Regions from separate parts of the Homo sapiens genome. Here region 1 is linked to region 2. Evidence: promoter capture Hi-C in 16 types of primary human blood cells and fetal thymus (Javierre and others, 2016). All regions are on one chromosome and are shown on one strand. Each heading gives the region's core, a stretch centred on a gene start or on the middle of the fragment in contact. The rest is flanking DNA. Distances are from core to core; before and after follow the strand shown. Region 1 holds the start of ODC1 (ornithine decarboxylase 1). Region 2 holds the start of RNF144A (ring finger protein 144A).

Evidence for each region. Contacts are between HindIII fragments. The CHiCAGO score rates a contact against its expected background, and 5 or more counts as called.
Region 1: a contact is called between the fragment with the promoter of ODC1 here and the fragment with the promoter of RNF144A in region 2, in 1 of 17 cell types (activated CD4 T cells). The highest score is 5.2, in activated CD4 T cells.

The regions. Positions count from the first base shown.
Region 1 is chr2:10,444,880-10,449,598 of GRCh38, forward strand. It overlaps ODC1 (ornithine decarboxylase 1), which reads right to left and starts at 3,448. Exons shown (of 12, transcript NM_002539.3): 1 at 3,242-3,448; 2 at 276-385; 3 at 52-170. The coding sequence starts at 153. SNORA80B (small nucleolar RNA, H/ACA box 80B) reads right to left here and starts at 1,970; the gene lies at 1,835-1,970. RefSeq lists silencers at 1,385-1,614, 2,839-4,318 and an enhancer at 2,629-2,718. The HindIII fragment of the contact is 2,497 bases long and covers 2,637-4,719 here.
Region 2 is chr2:6,913,742-6,918,661 of GRCh38, forward strand. RNF144A (ring finger protein 144A) reads left to right here and starts at 3,671. Exons shown (of 9, transcript NM_014746.6): 1 at 3,671-3,881. It overlaps GRASLND (glycosaminoglycan regulatory associated long non-coding RNA), which reads right to left. Exons shown (of 5, transcript NR_033997.1): 1 at 4,661-4,920; 2 at 3,109-3,483; 3 at 2,082-2,226; 4 at 452-609. RefSeq lists a silencer at 3,511-4,000. The HindIII fragment of the contact is 2,406 bases long and covers 3,030-4,920 here.

The DNA.
Region 1 (4,719 bases), core at 2,198-4,697, 3.5 Mb after region 2:
ACTTGCCTGGCACTCTCAGCTGCACTGCCAGCATGGGCCTCATATACTTACAGAAGAAGAAACTTCATTAATTTTCTGGTCCAGAATGTCCTTGGCAGTAAAACCTTCATCGAGGAAGTGGCAGTCAAACTCTTCATTACCAAAGTTGTTCATGATTTCTTGATGTTCCTCTGAAATGCAACAAAATGCAAATAGAGTGGAGAAATTCACTTAGAAGCCTTAGCAATACAATTCTTAAGATTAACCTGCAACATAAATGTAAACTGAATACTTACATGGAAAACTAAGAGATGGAATTGAAAGAAATATTTCCAGCTTCTCACAAAGGCAACTCTCCAGGAATTCCAAATCCCTCTGCGTGTGCCCTTGGAACAGCAGTGACAATCTGAGAAATAAAATAGGGAATTTGCTGTCTACCTTAGGAACACATCGAGTTGAAGATGGGGCACTGGCTGAGCACACGCAGAGCTAATCATGCCCCGGATATGAACCACTCACTGGCCTGGTCATCCTAATTATTACTAGGCATAAGGTACATGATTCCATAAACCTTGGCAGTATAAGGACACAACAAAAAATACCAGGTTTTTCCAAGGCAGCACACTAAGCATTTCAAATATTTGTACCAAAAAAATCTAGCATGCAAGTTTCAGAAGCTTATCTGCACTTAGCTCACTGATATGGAAAAAAGTCTTATAATGGTCTGATTTATTTCAGAGCAGTTTCAGTTCCTTAGAAACTTAAAATAGCATTATAGACTTTTTTATTTTTTTTGAGACAGAGTCTCACGCTGTCACCCAGGCTGGAGTGCAGCGGTGCAATCTTGGCTCACTGCAACCTCTGCCTCCCGGGTTCAAGCGATTCTCCTGCCTCAGCCTCCCCAGCAGCTGGGATTACAGGCGCCTGCCACCATGCCCGGCTAATTTTTGTGTTTTTAGTAGAGACAGGATTTCACCACGTTGTCCAGGTGGGTCTCAAACTCCTGACCCCAGGTGATCCACCCGCCTCGGTCTTCCAAAGTGCTGGGATTACATTATAGCCTTTATACACAGCCATACAAACATTTCCTACTTCCACTAAGTCTTAGAATGATTTTTACTGACCAACAGGCATCATGGAAATGTCTGGAGCATTTGAGATTTTACGAGTTAATTTTCATGTATTAGCTGGGTATATACTTCTTAAAAACTGTAATCTTCAAGTCAACTTATCACATTGTATTACAGTTGCTGTTACCTGATCAGAATTCAGTATTTTTTTTTTTTTTTTTTGAGACAGAGTTTTACTCTTGTTGCCCAGGCTGGAGTGCAATGGCATGATCTCGGCTCACCTCAACCTCCGCCTCCTGGGTTCAAGCGATTCTCCTGCCTCAGTCTCCCGAGTAGCTGGGATTACCGGCATGTGCCACCACACCCGGGGCCTGGCTAATTTTATATTTTTAGTGGAGATGGCGTTTCTCCATGTTAGTCAGGCTGGTCTCCAACTCCCGACCTCAGGTGATCCGCCTGCCTCAGCCTCCCAAAGTGTTGGGATTACAGGCGTGAGCCACCACGCCCGGCTAGAACTCAGTATTCTTAAACCAGCGTTGCCTACCAAGTTTAGCAATTCCGGGAATGCCAACTGTCCTTACAGTCACTCTCGTATTTGCTTAGCTATGAGAATAATTTGGGGCTAACTTCACCAAAAAAGAAAAACAAGCAAGAACATCACTCTAGTAACAATAAAAGCCACTGTATTTTGCTTTCATCAAATGTGGCACCTTGTGAACCAGCTTTCTTAAAATTATTTATTTTAACCTTTAAAAATTTCTGCCAGGTAGAGCTTTCTTCTTTTCCACTGTGCAACCCACTTCAGTGCCAGCAGCCTACGGGCACAGAGGCCAGGCAATGGTTCGGGGACACAGTTTGCTCTGGCATGGGGTACTATGACAGGCCCAGGGTGACGGGCCTGTCATAAATCCAAACCCATGCATAGAATTTGCTTTAAAGCTCTATCTATTGTGACTGCTTGGCATTGTCAACCTCCGAAGTTGCCTAAATCACCCCTCGGAGAAGGGAAGAGAGTAACAACGCTAGCAAAACCATTTTTGTTACAGACATGGTTATATATTTTTGTTTATATGAAGAATATTTACAATTTAATAATAAATAGGCTCATGCAGTCTCGGACTGGGTCATTTGAGGCCTTATTAAATATTTTTAAGGCAATGTTCAGGCCTAAACTTGGAAAGTTTTGATTTCTTTTTAATACGCCAATACTTTTTTGCTTTTCTGTATCTTTTAAGGCGTTACTTAAGTAACTTACTTGAATATATTTTACTGAAGAACACCTTTCGGTCTTTCTGTAACAGCTAAGTTATTTAAAATGGTCAATCAATTAGCACAAGAGGATAATGTTAGAAGAGATAGGGGCTAATTCAAACAAACTTTGAAAAAAATTTCACAAATCAATTAAAGTCTGCCCAATTTTATGTTTAAACAAAGTCAGCCAACACATTCTTTGTCCTCCCCAGACATTCCTGAGAGGTTCTGCCTTCTACACTTTCACCAATTATTTCGACTTCGCAAACAGCACAATCAGCCTTTTCTGCAAACCTTAGGGCTGTCTCCCCTGTGTATGTCCGTTCATCTAAGCCAAGCTTTTCCGAAATCACCGAGTCATTCACAGTCCTTAAATAAACACCTCTAAGTCATGGCCGAGCATCTAATATCACAGCTACTACAGCAAGACTATCTTAGCTCTACCCACTCTCGCGGGTTTCCAAATTGGTGTCATCTGCTCTGTAGACACAGCGAAAATAAAAACTGGAAGGAAACTGAAGGCGCCAAGGCCGGGGCCCGCTCGTCTGTACCAAGGCGAGCCCGGGCTCTGCGCCCCTGCACCTGCTGCGCGGCCGCCAGGGCCTCCCCAACGGCTCCCCGGCCAGCGCGCGGCCGCCGAAGGGTTGGGAAAGAGGCCGGCGCGGGGCCGCAGGGTCTCCGGGTGGGTCTCCCCTAGGCCCCTCCAGCCCCGAGCTGTGAAGACGGGGGCAGAACGAGGCGCCCGGATCACCCTTATCCAGCCGCGGGAGAACCCCGGGCCGGGAGGAAGCGGCGCCTCAAGGTCGTGGCCCGCTCGGCGACCACGTGTCTCCGCAGGCCGGCGAGGCGCGCCGCACACGTGCCCGGGGCCCGGGGCCCGCAGCCCGCCCCGGCTCCCGCCCTCGCTCCCTCCCTTCCTCCGCGGCCGGGGAGTCCCTCACCTCAGAGCGCCCAGGCGCCGCAGGCCAGCCCCATGGGGAAGCGCAGACGCCGGAGCCTGAGTCGCAGCCGCAGGAGCGCTCGGCCGCCCCCGCCGCGCCCGTCAGCGCCTGGCTCCCGCCCGCCGGAGACGCCGGCCCGAGGTGGCGCCGGAGCTGCTGGCAGAGGGGCGGCGGGCGGCGGCGGCGGCGGCTACAGGAGGGACTGACAAAGCCCCACGGCACGCCGCTCCCTACTTATAGCACCGGCGGGTCGCCATGGAGACGCACCAGCTCAAACCAGCCACGATCGGTTCCGGCCGGGACACCGCCGGGGGAGGGGCGGGGGCCCGGCGGTGGCCAACCCGGGCCCGCGCGGAGCTGGTGGGGCGCCGGCGGGCCGACGTCAGCCGAGCCGAGCACCGCCTGCCCCACGCGTGGCCCCCGCCCCCGGCTTCGCGCCCCGCCCTCCCCGCCCTGCGGCCGCCTCTCCCCGCCCTCCCCGCCCTGCGGCCGCCTCGCCCCGCCCCGCCCTGCGGCGGTCTCGCCCGCCTGGAACTGGTCCGCGCACGCGCACGACGCCGCAGGCCCCGGCCCCGGCCCGCGGCAGCTGAACGGCAGAGCCTGTAGCTGCACAGCTGTGCTTCCACCTGGCGTTCAGTACCTCGTGCCCGAGAGCGGAAAAGGGAAATCGCGAGCGGAGGACCGATGTGCTGGCCACGTGGGCCCCGCCGGGCCGACTCCGGACCCTGCTGCCGCCCATTCCTCCGGTGCAAGGGACCTGGAAGTGATCCCGGTGCCGCTCTGCTCCCACCAGCTAGGGAGCAGAGGCGCGGGAGGGAAGGGGCGTCCCGGGGGTCGCCAGCACGCTGCGGGCAGGGCTGGCAGCCGCCTCCACGCCCCCGCGCTGGAAGCCTCGTCTTTGTAACATCGAGGTATCCTGTAACTAGATGGGTCCTGGCCTGCGGAGGTAGTTTCCCCTGTGAAGCCAGGGACTCAGCCAGGAGCGTGAGGGGACCCGGATCCTGAGTCTCCAAGCCGCCCACTACCCTCTGCTTTACCGGATGGAACTCATCAGTAACTAGGTATCTTTAAGGGCGGCTCCCTGGCGCGCTCTGAGAGTTACGGAAGTCCCAAAATGCTTTGACCGAAAACGTCTAAACAGTGAATACATAAAGCAAAAAGCCGCGTGGGAAATTCGAGTCCCTAGGAGCGCCCAGGGGACGCCTCTGGAGGTGGACTGCCACTCACTCCAGGCCACGCTGGAATGCCCGCACCAGGGAGGCACTGCACTTGAATTGGGGACACTTTTTTTTTTTTTTTTCATTTTTACCTTTCATTCCCTTTTGGACAATCCAGACAGGATATGTCTCTCCCTAGGGTGGGGATTTCGACTCCTTAGGGTGGGAGTACAGCCGATGAAGAGTTAAGGAGAGGAGTGGGTAGATCTAGATCTAGCCTTGGGTGGGTGGGGGCGGGGTTGGAGGAGCTCAGAGCACTGG
Region 2 (4,920 bases), core at 2,421-4,920:
CAGACAAGGGAAGCTGTATTAGTCTGTCTGTTCCCACACTGCCAATAGAGACATGCCTGAGACTAGGTAATTTATAAAGAAAAAGAGGTTTAATGGACTCACAGTTCCACATAACTGGGGAGGCCTCACAATCACGGCGGAAGGCAAGGAGGAGCAAAGTCACAGCAGGCAAGAACATTTGCAGGGGAACTCCCCTTTATAAAACCATCAGATCTCATAAAACTTATTCACTGTCACGAGAACGGCACAGGAAAGACCCACCCCCATGATTCAGTTACCTCTCACCTGATCCCTCCCATGACATACGAGAATTATGGGAGCTACAATTCAAGATGAGATTCAGGTGGAGAGACAGCCAGACTGTATCAGAAGCTTTGCCAAGAAGACCCGGAGAGTAGCAGGAACTCTCCTCTGTTCTTTGGCATTACCCTGTGAAGGCTGTGTGGCTCACCTGGGGACTGTGCCTCTGGCAGGAAAGTCTTGTGCTGTCTGCTCCTGAGAGAAGGCATGGCTTCTGGAATGAGATGATCAGTAGCACAGATGGGCTGAAGATGAGACGTTACATTCCACATTCCCAGAACCATAATATCCCCCAGATTCCTCTGTGTCCTTAAGGAGAGAAAGTCAGAATGAGAACTGACATTTGATTTCCTGCTACTCTAGAGAAACAAGAAATGGAATTTGTTAATTTTTAAAATAAAAAAAGTGAATTTTCTATATTTATGGAATGTGTGATTACAAATTCACATAAACTTCCTTGTCTAATTTTTTTTCTTTTCTTTTTCTTTTTCTTTCTTTTTTTTTTTTTTTGAGACTGAGTTTCGCTCTTGTTGCCAGGCTGCAGTGCAGTGGTGCGATCTCGGCTCACCGCAACCTCTGCCTCTGGGGTTCAAGCGATTCTCCTGCCTTAGCCTCCCGAGTAGCTGGGATTATAGGCATGTGCCACCACGCCTGGCTAATTTTGTATTTTTAACAGAGACAGGGGTTTCTCCATGTTGGTCAGGCTGGTCTTGAACTCCCAACCTCAGGTGATCTGCCTGCCTCGGCCTCCCAAAGTGCTGGGATTACAGGCATGAGCCACCACACCCAGCCCCTTGTCTAATTTTTTAAAAAAAATTCAAGTGTGGGTCTTGAGCTTCCCTTGATTTTCTGTCTAGAAGAGAAGTGTCAGAACGGCTATCTGCTTTCCCAGCTTCTGGGCCATTTGCTGCAGCACTGAGTCGCCAGCCTGCTTCGCATGAGCAGGGAAATTTTGCCCATCTAGGTAATCAGGAAGAGCTTGTTCAATGAGTGAAGGGTGAGTCATACTGCATTGGCACAAACTCTTGGCAACAATGAGTGTCCTTTACAATGGGCTCTATGGGACAGCCCTCTGGGGGAGATGGGCCAGCCAGACCTGAGTAAGGGGCTGGACTGAAAACTGACAGTGACAGGTGGAAGTGAACTTGAGAGACCCAACAAACTTCTTGTTGGAGAGAACTAGGACAGCTGCTCAGAGGCAAAGCTCAGAGTAGAGGATTTCACTCAGTATTTATTGAGCACTTATTATGTTCAAGGCCCTAAGAGGGAATATGTAGAAAAATGCTGTTCTCTAGAATCGTAAGATCTAAGCATCAGAAAGTGAATGCCACAAACATTAAGTGTGGCAGATGCCATGATCAACACAGACAAAGACTAAGTATTACACCAGCTCAGAGATCAGAGATCTAGGGATGGGGAACTCCATGATAGGCCGGGAAGTCTTTGCAGGGAAATCTGCATCTGAGTGCCTTTTGAGGCCTGCTGCAAACAAAACTTTCAATGCCAGTGTCCCCTCTCACTATCTCCCCAACAATGGTTGCATTCACAAAGACAGAGCAGGGGAATGAAGTCACATGTATTACCACATGAGCAATTACAAGTCTCAGTTGGGTCAGGGCATTTTTGCACCTTAACTCTCTTCCTGCAGCCCCAGATGCTCCTTTGCAGTCCCCCAGCTTGAGTGTTATACGTCTGTGTTCCATGAGAATGCCTGCATCTTAATACAGACCCCTTTATTGTGGGGAACACAGCACAACGTCTGTGCATTTGCAGTCACCCACCTGTGCATCCCCTGAATCCTTCATTCATAAGTAGTACTCAACCAGGAACTTCTTTGGTATCCCAGCTCGGACACGGGAGGTGTGAATATATTTTTCATAAAGCCCAGGCCTTTATGCAGAACGATTTTCATCCTCTAGTGAGAGGCTGAAGTAACAAAGTGCTGTTGTTAAGATTCTTCCCATTGTGCATTTTTCTTGAATAATGACATTTCTAAAAAGAATCTGAAACTGAGGCATTAGAAGGCAAGTGCTCGTTCATATATTTGAAGAGGTCAAATATTTACCAGAATAACTTCTCAATACAGAGGGGACAGCTTTATTTTATTTTACTATAAAGATGTATGTGTAGCAGAAGACAAATTATGCAGAGCTTTGAGTTAGTTAAGAATCATCTGATTTAATTCTTTGGAGAAATGAGACAAATTGTAGCTAAGGACTATGGAGTTGTTTTAGTTTGCCAGTTATATTTAATTTGACTATTTCTTTATTTATTGAGAGACAAAGTCTCACTCTGCTGCCCAGGCTGGAGTGCAGTGATGCAAACACAGCTCACTTCAGCCTTGACCTCCTGGGCTCAAGCAGTCCTCCTGCCTTGGCCTCCCAAAGTGCTGGGCTTACAGGTGTAAGCCATGGCACTTGGCCTATTTGACTTGTTTAATCCCTCCGAAGAACTCATACATACTATTGCCACCTCATTTTCCACGTAAGAAAATGGAAGCACGAAGACCTTAATAACTTGCTTAATGGCTAGTAGGTGGTAGAGCTTGAATTTAGACCACACAGTGTGGAGGGTATGCTATTAAGGAAAAACGATGTTCTAGTGGGGTTTCCATTTAATATTGCAGAAAAAAGAATCTATATATTTAAGAAGGTGTTATTTCATGCACACTCGTAGGTTTTGTTCATATATGCACATCTGACGTATAATTTAACATTTGTGTAACTTCAAGCTTCTATGGGGAGTGGCAGAAGATGCAGGAATTCTATTAATACCTTCGCAGATCTTAGATTCCAACAAGCTGGATACCTTAAGAAAAATAAAGAAATTGCTGTGCTTGGATCCCAGATGTCCATTCCACCTTTTGGGACCTCCCGGGGGGCCCTCTTTTCTTCATCCTTCAAGACAAGGATAGTGGGGTGAACAGACAGACTTTCCTTGCGAGGGTTGGCTCAGGAAGGCTCTGGGCTCATCTCACAGCCGCCCCAGCGAGGGTCGGGGAGGCAGGTGCTGGCTCCGGTGGGGTCTGCGGCAGAGCAGGACTGGAGCCCAGGGCGCAGCTGCACAGCTCAACGCCGGTTCGCGCCCTGGTTTACAGCGTTGGGCTGGGTCACCCCTTCTTTCCTAGCTTGCTGCTGTGTGTTCCCTCGGTGTAGGAATCAGGGGAGTGTCTTCTGGAGGCCACTAAAGCAGGAATAGCATTTTCATGTTAGCGTGCACGGGCGGTCTCCGCAGCCCCTCCTCGTGCCGGAGCCTGTCCTGGGGCCTGCGGGGCGGCTCCGGGCCTCGGGCCGGCGCAGGCGGGCGGCAGGGGGCGCTGTGCGGCTCGGCGCGGGGGCGGGGCCGGGGCCGAGCCTCCCGCGTGCCCGGCCTCTGTGCGCGCTCGCGCCCCGCCCGCGCAGCCGCTTCTCCCCGCGCGGGCTCTCGGCAGGCGGGAGGCGGCAGGGCTGGCATTGCAGTGCGGGCCGTGCGGGCTGCGCGGGCGCGGGGAGGCGCGGGCGGCAAACTGCGGGCACCCGGCACCCCGCAGCCAGTACCGGGCGGAGGCGTCAGAGCCGCGCACCGCGGACGAGCAGGCCCAGGTAGAGTGACGCGCGTCCCCTTTGTGTCCGCATCGCCCGGGCCGGCCGCGGAGCGGGGAGGGCGGGACGCGGCGCTGCGCGGCCGGCCTTGGGGCTCGGGGCTTGCGGCCGCGCCTGCCCCGCTGGGTCCTGCCCCGGCGCCCGGTGGCAGCGGGCGGGGGGCAGCGTCCCGGGCGGGGACTCGCGGGCTCCGTTCAGAGGACGCCCGCCCTGCCCTGCCCGTGTCCCTGACCTCGTCCCTGCTCTGCTCCTGCCCTGCCCTGCCTCTCGCAGGCGGCGCCCGCGCCCCAGGGCAGTGGGCGCTTAGGGACCTGGCGTCCCCCTGCCTGCCCTGCGCGGTCGCGGGTCTGCGCTGCGGCGCGGGACAGGGCGCCCCGGGCCAGGGTCCCGCGGGCGAGCTGGCGGCGGGGGCTTTCAAGGTTCGCGGCCCCGCCCGCAGACCCTGGGGCTGGAGCCTCGGCCCCAAGAGGAGGTCTGGGAAAGGACGACGCGTCCGGGGCATCGCCACCGGCGGGGAAGGTCGGAACTGGCCAAGAGGATGCCCCGCACATCCCCTGCGCGCGGGGTCCGCGGCTGCTACTGCCCCTGGTCCCCACCGCGAGCCCTTTCCCGGGGAATGAGCCGCCGCCCGAGCCCCGGAGTTCCCTGCGGGTCTTACCCACCCCAGCCTCCGGCCGCCGACCCCAAGCCCCCTGCACTGTGCTTGGCTCCCAGCTGTTTGGTCGCTTATGCCATCCTGGAGGCTTCCTGGTCCTGGGGTGAAGGGGTGACTTCTTTACCCTAATGGTCTTCGTAGGCAGGTCTCAGGATGTCCACTCCAAAGTTCGTGGTCTTTTTTCTAGAGAATAATAATTTTTAAAATCCATTGAACTGGCCGGGCGCGGTGGCTCACGCCTGTAATCCCAGCACTTTGGGAGGCTGAGGCGGGCGGATCACGAGGTCAGGAGATCGAGACCACGGTGAAACCCCCTCTCTACTAAAAATACAAAAAATTAGCCGGGCGCAGTGGCGGGCGCCTGTAGTCCCAGCTACTCGGGAG